2 separate regions of the Homo sapiens genome follow, and region 2 is linked to region 1. Evidence: promoter capture Hi-C in human tissues and cell types (Jung and others, 2019). All regions are on one chromosome and are shown on one strand. The core of a region is centred on a gene start or on the middle of the fragment in contact, and the rest is flanking DNA. Distances in the headings are between cores, read along the strand shown.

Region 1 (4,471 bases), core at 1,259-3,758:
TGCTGAATCTAGTTCCCACCCCCACCTACAGAATCAGAATATGCACTTAAATGAAGCCCCCAGTTATCCTCAAGCACCTGGAAGACTGAGAGGCAGTATTCTGCTCTGGAGCAAAAGGGTGTGACCATTTTGGCTGCAATGTGACCATTTTGGCTTCTCTGCCCTGGCAGAGGTGGGCTGAGGTGGGCTTTGGAGGAAGAGTCCACACCTTGGCTAATCGAGGCCGACCAGGCTTGCTTGACTTTAGTGGAAGTCAGCCAGGTTTCCCTGGCTTAGGGACTGTGAGCTGTACCTGCTCCACTGGACGACCAAACAGTGAGCTGGCTTTAGGCTCCTGGCACTGCTAGCTTCTTCCAGTGATCTCAGAAACATATGCTATGCCCTGATGCAGAAGTCCCTTCCCCACTCCCCCTACTGCTAAAGACCTTCAAAGGGAAGGGGATTTGCTGTGGTCTGTCAGCCCCCTGCCCACTCCCCACTTCCCAACCCAAAGTGAAAAGTGGATTTGAAGTTCCTATATTTTATATTTATTATTTATTTTAGAGATAGGGTCTCGCTCTGTCACCCAGGCTGGAGTGCAGTGGTCAATCATAGCTCACTACAGCCTCCAACTCCTGGGCTCAAGCGATCCTCTGGCCTCAGCCTCTGTAGTAGCTAGGACAACATTTTGTTGTTGTTTTGTTTGTTTCTTTGTAGAGATGGAGTCTCACTATGTTGCCCAGGCTGGTCTTGAACTCCTGGCCTCAAGCAATTCTCCTGCCTTGGCTCCCCAAAATGCTGGCATTACAGGTGTGAACCTTGGTACCCGGGCCAGAAGTGCCTATAAACAGTATCCTGGCTTCCAATTTGACCCAACAATCCAGCAATAAAGAGTGCAAAAAAGGGCTACCTGCGCCTTCAGGCCGGCCTCAGGGCCCACCCTGAACAAATCCAGCAGACACTTACACCCTCATTTGAAAGAACTCCAAAATTGTCAGGAATTGTCCTGGTAGACCATTGTGACAGAGACAAAGGAGAACAGCATGGACTACAAAAGACCCAGCAAGGGAAAGAGGATGAGTCGGGAATGGCAACAAGAGCCCCTGCGAGCTTTTCCTTGGCTCATTTCTAATAGAAAAGGAAGCATTTCTCCCTTCTCTGCCTGGTTGCTATTTCTTGTCCAATCTGGGAAAACGGTGTGACAATGGGCAACAGACACGTGTTCAAGCTCTGGGGCCTCAATGCCGGGCTCTGTAGAATAAGACGGCAGGGCTGGACAAGATCCCTAACCGTTCTAACAGTGTATGTTTTGGATCAAACAGCAGAGGACCTCGGATCTGGCCGCGCTCGCTGCTGGTGGGACAGCTGCCTGAGAAAATAAGCATGTGGCCCCCGCCCGCCACCTAGCCAAGCGCCAGGATCTGTCGCGTTTTCTAGTAGTATGGAAAGCAGCGTGGAGGAGAATGAAGGGAGAGGAGCAAAAAGGGGTGGGGGCAGTGCGACAATGAGAGGGGAGGAGAGAGCCACGAGGATTTATTTCATCATGCAAACAGGCGCGTAGGTTTCATCAGCGTCTGTGCGCTGGGGCTCCGGGGCTGGGAGGGAATGCCAGGTTCCTGAGGGCAGCCCGAGGCTGGCCCCCCCACCCGTGCCAGCTCAGCTTCCTCTTCCTCATCCTCTCCCAGGGAGGTCACACGGTGCCTCCTCCTCTCCCCGGACAGAAGAACGTGTTTTTCTGCACAGCCCTGGCCGTGGCGCCAGGGTCCCCCCCGCGGAGATCCCACTCGCGTAAATGGGGAACGTGCCACAGGTGCCCGGGAGGCGCTGCTGGAGCAGGCAAGCACCCCCAGATCCGAACCTCAGTCAGAGCGCGCGAGTCCAACACAAAACTCGGCGTGCTTCGGGAAGGAAAAAGGGCCCTGCAGGAATCGTTTATCCCAACAGATAATACCCATCCCATAAAAACACCAGGCCAGGCCTCTCCTGGATCGTGGGCCACCCTAACTCCGCCCTCTCCCGCTTCGGGAGCGCCCCCAACACCCACAAGGGGCAGCACAGCTCGGCATGTGGCTGTCCTGGAGGCGTGCGTGTTTGTTAGGTGTCAGCTGTCTGACACCTAACAGAAAGAGGAAACAAACGGGGCAGTTTGTAACTCGGGTCTGGAAGACGCACTCAGAGGGGAAGCGGGCGGCCACTTCCATGACCCTCGCTGTCTCTCCGATGCCCCTTTTCCGTTCTTTCCAATCACGGCGCCCTTGAGCCTGGACACCCGGTCCAATCCGCGATTCCCGATCCTCCCGCCCGCCCAGGAGCCGGCAAGCGGCGTCGCCAAGCCCGCGCCTACCTCCCGGGGTGGTGCTGAAGAGCGTGCCGCCGGGGGTCGTGCTGTAGTCCCCGGGCGGGAGCTGCACGCCGTCGCCGAGCACCACCCGGCGAGTGGCGGGGATGGCCCGGCTTGGGGTCTGGCTGCAGCTGCTGCCCCCGGACATGGTCTCCTGTGCGCTGCACCCGCGAACCTCTCGCTGCCCTCCCGCGCCTCCAGCCTCGCTCCGCCTCGCCCCGTGCCGCCCCGCCCCAGGACGCCCCTTCCGCCTCTCCCGCCCCACGCCCCTGGGATTTGTAGTCCGCGCCGCAGCCCCACCCAGCTCCAGGACGCTGCTTCCACGTGGGATCCCCCGCCGCCCCCCGACCCACTCCCGTCTGCTCACGGGCTCTTCCGCACGGGCGCTGGCGCCGCCCCGCAGCGACTGCCCCTCCGTCCGGGGTCCCTCCCCGCCACGCTGGCAGGGACGGATATGGGGATGGCGGGCGGGATAGCTCGCCTAAATTAATCCTTGGCTGGGTTGGGGGCGGCGACTCAGGACCGCGCGGAGATCCGAGCTGACCCGGCCCACTGCAGGAAGGCCCGGTTTCTGCATTAGGACATCAGGCCTGGTGTACCCTTCGGCACTCCCTGTTTCGTGCCTTAGTTCCTCAGATGAGAAAATGGGGATTGAGTAGTTATGCTCACCGCCCCCCGCCCCGCTTCAATTTCTTGACCTTGATGGGGGTGGGGGTGGAGGGGCTAACAATTCCGTTCCCGGCCTTTAGAGAGGGTGTGGGAGGAGGAGTGAACCAACCAGCGGCGTCCTGGGAGCTAAATTTAGAGCTGGGGGCGCAGAGGTGGGTGGTGGGGAAGGGCGTTGGAGAGGAGTAAGAGTGTCGAAGAGGTTTCCCGATAGCCCCTGAATTGAGTCCAACGTCCACCTGAGGTTTAGTAGGTACTCCTTGGATGGATGGATGGATGGATGGATGGATGGATGGATGGATGGATGTTCAAGGGGAGAGAGAAAAATGCAAGAAGGACCGAGGATGGAAAAGCTTGTTGGGTTTGAGAAGTTCTTAGCATTATGGGCACATATTGTGGGGAAGAGGGTGAAGAGGGGAGGGCAGTTTAAAAGGGAAATTGGGTGGTGCACCTGTAATCCCAGCTACTCAGGAAGCTGAGGCTGGAGGATGCTTGAGCCCAGGGGTTTGAGGCTCCAGTGAGCTGTGATCACACCACTGCACTCCACCCTTTGTGACAGAGACCCTATCTCTAAAAAAATATATAATAATTTTTTAAAAAGGAAATTGGGGTCAGGTCGTTGAGTTTTTCAAATTATGCCAAAGTGCTTGGACTTTGTCTTAGAAGGGCAGGAGATATCAGAGATCTTTTAAGCAGGGGGATGACATGATTTGAGTTGTTTTTTGGAAGGATAACTAGTAGCCAGTGGAGTTTCAGAATGGGCCAAGGAGGGCAAGGCCTGAGATAGGGAGACCTGTTGAGTTTGGTCTCACTTTTGAGGGAAACTTTAGGCCTACAGTGGCTAAGACAGTAGCCACCAGCTACAGGTGCACATTGAGCACTCCAAATGTGACCAGTCCAAACTGTCACAAGTTTAACATACACACCATATTTCAAAGACTTAGTGTGAAGAAAATCATGTAAAATACCTGAATAATTTGTTTCTATATTGATTGTATGTTGAACTGATAATATTTTGAGTATACTGGGTTAAGAAAAATACATTATAAAAATTAATTTTGGGCCAGGCGCAGTGGCTCACGCCTGTAATCCCAACACGTTGGGAGGCCGAGGCAGGCGGATCATGAGGTCAAGAGATCGAGACCATCCTGGACAACATGGTGAAACCCTGTCTCTACTAAAAATATAAAAAAAATTAGCTGGGCATGGTGGCGCATGCCTGTAGTCCCAGCTACTCGGGAGGCTGAGGCAGGAGAATTGCTTGAACCTGGGAGGCAGAGGTTGCAGTGAGCTGAAATCATGCCACTGCACTCCAGCCTGGCGTCAGAGCAAGACTCTGTCTCAAAAGAAAAAAAAATAAATTTCGGCTGGGTGCAGTGGCTCACGCCTGTAATCCCACCACTTTGGGAGGCCTAGGCGGGTGGATCATGAGGTCAGGAGTTCAAGACCAGCCTGGCCAAGATGGTGAAACCCTGTCTCTACTAA
Region 2 (4,471 bases), core at 895-3,394, 120 kb after region 1:
AGTACAAAGCTGAAGACTTTACACTACTAGATATTAAGATGTGTCATGAAACTGTGGTAATTAAGACAGTATGGTATTGGTTCAGTAATAATGAAATAGACCAGGGAACAGAATAGAGTTCAGAAACATGATATTGACGGGCCCATAGGGGAAAGCTGGGTCATTCAATAAATGGCACTGGGTCTATGGGATATTGTAGGAGCTGAGGAAAAACTTTCCCTCTACCCGCTGAAAAACCAACTCACAAAAGGCAGATTAGGAAGAGAAATGGCCCACAAATGTTTTTAACGTGAACAGGAATCTTATCAAAATATAAGATCTCAAAGAAAAATGTCATTGATGCTTTTATACTATCTTGAAGTTACAGAAAGAATAGGGGCTTGGATTCATGGCAAAATAGTTTATGGGAGGGAGAGAAGAGAGGACTGGCTAGCAAAGGTGTCTTGTTATATGGAGGGGATCTCACAGGTTGGAGCCTTCAGAGAGAATAGGTGGTAAATGTTTCTTTCAGACCTTTAATGGTGTCAGACTCTCAGTTCATCTTTCCTGGATCCAGGCAAGGGAGGATCTCAGAGAAAGCCTGGCTGCATCACGCAGATTCTCAACAGATGCAAATCTCCCCGACAAAAGACAGCTTGGGGTTGGGCGCGGTGGCTCATCCCTGTAATCCCAGTACTTTGGGAGGTCTAGGCAGGCAGATCACTTGAGGTTAAGAGTTCGAGACCAAGGCCGGGCGCGGTGGCTCACGCCTGTAATCCCAGCACTTTGGGAGGCTGAGGCAGGCAGATCACCTGAGGTCGGGAGTTCGAGACCAGCCTGACCAACATGGAGAAACTCTGTCTCTACTAAAAATACAAAATTAGCTGGGTGTGGTAGCACATGCCTGTAATCCCAGCTACTCGGGAGGCTGAGGCAGGAAAATTGCTTGAAAACCCAGGAGGTGGAGGTTGCGGTGAACCGAGATTGCGCCATTGCACTCCAGCCTAGGCAACAAGAGTGAAACTGTCTCAAAAAAAAAAAAAAAAAAAGAGTTCAAGACCAACCTGACCAACATGGTGAAACTTCATCTCTACTAAAAATACAAAAATTAGCCAGGTGTGGCGGAGGGCACCATAATCTCAGCCAGTCAGGATGCTGAGGCAGGGAGAATTGCTTGAATCTAGGAGGGGGAGGTTGCAGTGAGCCTAGATGGTGTCCCTGCACTCCAGCCCGGGCAACAGAGTGAAATTCCATCTCAAAAAAAAAAAGAAAAAGACAGCTTGGTAGGACTCCTTCTGTCCACAGGTCCTCTGAACAACCATCTCAAAATATGTCAGACTAGGCCGGATGTGGTAGCTCATGCTTGTAACTCCAATATTTTGGGAGGCTGAGGTGGGAAGATTGCTGGAGCCCATAGTGAGCTGTGATCGCATCTCTGCCCTCCAGCCTGGGGGACAGAGAGAGATGCTGTCTCAGAAAAAATTTAAGGCGGGCCCGGTGGCTTATGCCTGTAATCCCAACAGTTGGGGAGACCAAGGCAGGTGGATCACTTGAGGCCAGGAGTTCGAGACTAGCCTGGCCACCATGGTGACACTCTGTCTCTACTAAAAATACAAAAATTAGGCCTGGCGCAGTGGCTCATGCCTGTAATCCCAGCACTTTGGGTGGCCGAGATTGGCGGATCACCTGAGGTCAGGTATTCAAGACCAGCCTGGCCAATATGGTGAAACCCCATCTCTACTAAAAATACAAAAATTAGCCAGGTGTGGTGGCTCATGCCTGTAATCCCAGCTACTTGGGAGGCTGAGGCAGGAGAATCGCTTGAACCCAGGAGGCGGAGGTTGCAGTGAGCCAAGATTGTGCCACTGCACTCCAGCATGGGCAACGACAAAAAAAGCGAGACTCCATCTCAAAAAAAAAAAAAAATGATAATGATAATTAGCCAGGTGTGGTGGTGCACGCCTGTACTCCCAACTACTCAGGAGGTTGAGGCGGGAGAATCACTTGAACCTGGGAGGCGGAGGTTGCAGTGAGTGATGGTGCCACTACACTCCAGCCTGGGTGACAGAGTGAAACCCTGTCTCAAAAAATTTTTTTTAAATGTCAAAGTATATTTCGGAGTGAAATCTTTTGGGTTCCTTCAGTATTCATATGGGGAAAAATGAATCTTGATCCCAACAGATACTATATGGTAGGGAAAATTTTGTGCTTCAGTGGAAAATTGCATTATCTATAGTACATTCTCTGGATTATCTGATTTTGATTCTATGATAGCTATTTTACAGCTCTGTGTCTGGTAGACAATTGAAAGCAATGCAAAATTCATAAAAGCAAATTGTCTAGTGGAGGGACACTCCCTGCCCCCTCCTCCAGAAAAACAAGCTTTGCCTCCATTTGCATATTCATTTCAATATTTCTGGTCTCTAAATGCGTCTATTCTTTGGATTCACCTTTGAACTGGTTGTAACACCTTACTAGTTTTTCTTAATAATAAGTGTAATAAAATTTTAACATGTTTATTTTTATGTCTGTATGAAAGTTCATAATTTTATGTTTTTTAAAAAATTAATTTTTGGGTTGGGCGCAGTAGCTCACGCCTGTAATCCCAGCACTTTGGGAAGCCGAGGGGGGTGGATCACCTGAGGTCAGGAGTTCGAGACCAGCCTGGCCAACATGGCGAAACCCCATCTCTACTAAAAATACAAAAATTAGCCAGGCGTGGTGGCTCATGCCTGTAATCCCAGCTACTCGGGAGGCTGAGACAGGAGAATTGCTTGAACCCAGGAGGCAGAGGTTGCAGTGAGGCGAGATGGAGCCACTGCACTCTAACCTGGGTGACAGAGCAAGACTCCATCTCAAAAAAAATAAAATTAAATTAACTTTTGGCCAGGCACAGTGGCTCACACTGTAATCCCAGAACTTTGGGAGGCCGAGGCAGGTGGATAACTGGAGCTCAAGAGTTTGAGACTAACCTGGGCAATGTGGAGAAACCCTACACCTACAAAAACTACAAAAATTAGCCAAGCATTGTGGCTCATGCCTATAGTCCCAGCTACTAACACTTGGGAGGCGGAGGTAGGAGGCTCACTTGAGCCTGGGAGGTTGAGGCTGCTGTGAGCCATGATCATGCAGCCTGGGTGACAGAGCAAGACCCTGTCTCAAAAAAATTAACTTTGAATAATACAAAAAATTAGGTGGATTGCTAATATAAAGGTGGAAGGCAAACCAAAATGCTTTTATAAGACAATAAAGGAGAATATATTCATGACTTTGAGACAGCAATGATTTCTTAGAAAGGACTTAAAGCACTAACCATAAAAGAAAAGATTGATCATTTGGGTGTCATTAAAATTAAGACTGCTTTTCATCAAGAAACACCACTAAGAGAGTGAAAAGGCATGCCACAGAGTGGGAGAGGATACTTGCATTACATTATAGACTTGATATCTCTATCTTTGTAATGACATCTACAAATCAATACAAAGACAGAAGAAAAATGGGCCAAAGATATGAGTAGGCCCATCACGAGAAAACCATATCCAAATGGTGAAAAAGCTTAAGAAAAAGCATACAGCCTCATTAGTCACCAGGGAAATAAAAATTAAAACTATTGCACAGCCGCCAGAAGGGTGAAATGCAAAAGACAATACTAAATGTCTTCATCTGCTTGTGTTACTATAAGGAATACCCAAGGCTGGGTAATTTATAAAGAAAAGAGGTTCATTTGGCTGCTGGTTCTTCTGGCCATACAAGAAGCATGGCACCAACATCTACTTCTGATGGGGGCCTCAACCTGCTTCCACTCATGGCAGAAGGCAAACGGAAGCCTGCGTGTGCAGAGACCATAGGGTGAGAGAGAAAGCAAGAGAGAGAGGGGAGGTAGCAGTCTGTTTTTTTTAATAACCAGCCCAGGCTGGACGCGGTGGCTCATGCCTGTAATCCCAGCACTCTGGGAGGCGGAGGCGGGTGGGTCACTTGAGGCCAGCAGCTCAAGACCAGCCTGGCCAACATGGCGAAACCCCGTCTCTACTAAAAATACAAAAATTAGCTGTGCATGGTGGCAGGAGCCTGTAATCCCAGCTACTTGGGAGGCTGAGGCAGGAGAATTGCTTGAACCTGGGAGGCGGAGGTTGCAGTGAGCCGAGATGGTGCCACTGCACTCCAGCCTGGGTGACAGAGCAAGACTCCGTCTCGAAGAAAAACAAACAAACAACAAACGAAACGAAAAAAAACGCAATCAGCCCTCACAGGAACTTACAGAACGAGAACTTACTCACTACTTCCAAGACTGCACCAAGCTGTCATGAAGTCTTGAGGGATCCGCCCCCATGACCCAAACACCTCCTATTAGGTCCCACCTCTGACACTGGGGATCACATTTCAACATGAGGTTTGGAGGGGTCAAATATTCAAACCATAGCACTGAGGCTGACAACCATGTGGAGAAACTGGATCTCAAACATTGGTGGGAGTATAAATTGCTATAACCTCT

Evidence for each region. The method cuts DNA at HindIII sites, captures the fragments that hold promoters and counts their contacts. A contact is called where the count stands out against the background at its distance.
Region 2: a fragment that was not itself captured here is called in contact with the fragment with the promoter of EIF4EBP1 in region 1 in 3 of the 25 tissues and cell types used here (IMR-90 fibroblasts, bladder and liver).

What each region holds. Positions count from the first base shown.
Region 1 is chr8:38,028,571-38,033,041 of GRCh38, reverse strand. It overlaps EIF4EBP1 (eukaryotic translation initiation factor 4E binding protein 1), which reads right to left and starts at 2,508. Exons shown (of 3, transcript NM_004095.4): 1 at 2,324-2,508. The coding sequence starts at 2,468. RefSeq lists enhancers at 1,688-1,787, 2,417-2,711 and a silencer at 2,288-2,727. The HindIII fragment of the contact is 9,944 bases long and covers 1-4,471 here.
Region 2 is chr8:37,909,945-37,914,415 of GRCh38, reverse strand. No RefSeq gene overlaps it. Among named protein-coding and RNA genes, the nearest start is that of RAB11FIP1, 13 kb to the right of the region's middle. RefSeq lists an enhancer at 3,538-4,037. The HindIII fragment of the contact is 7,181 bases long and covers 1-4,471 here.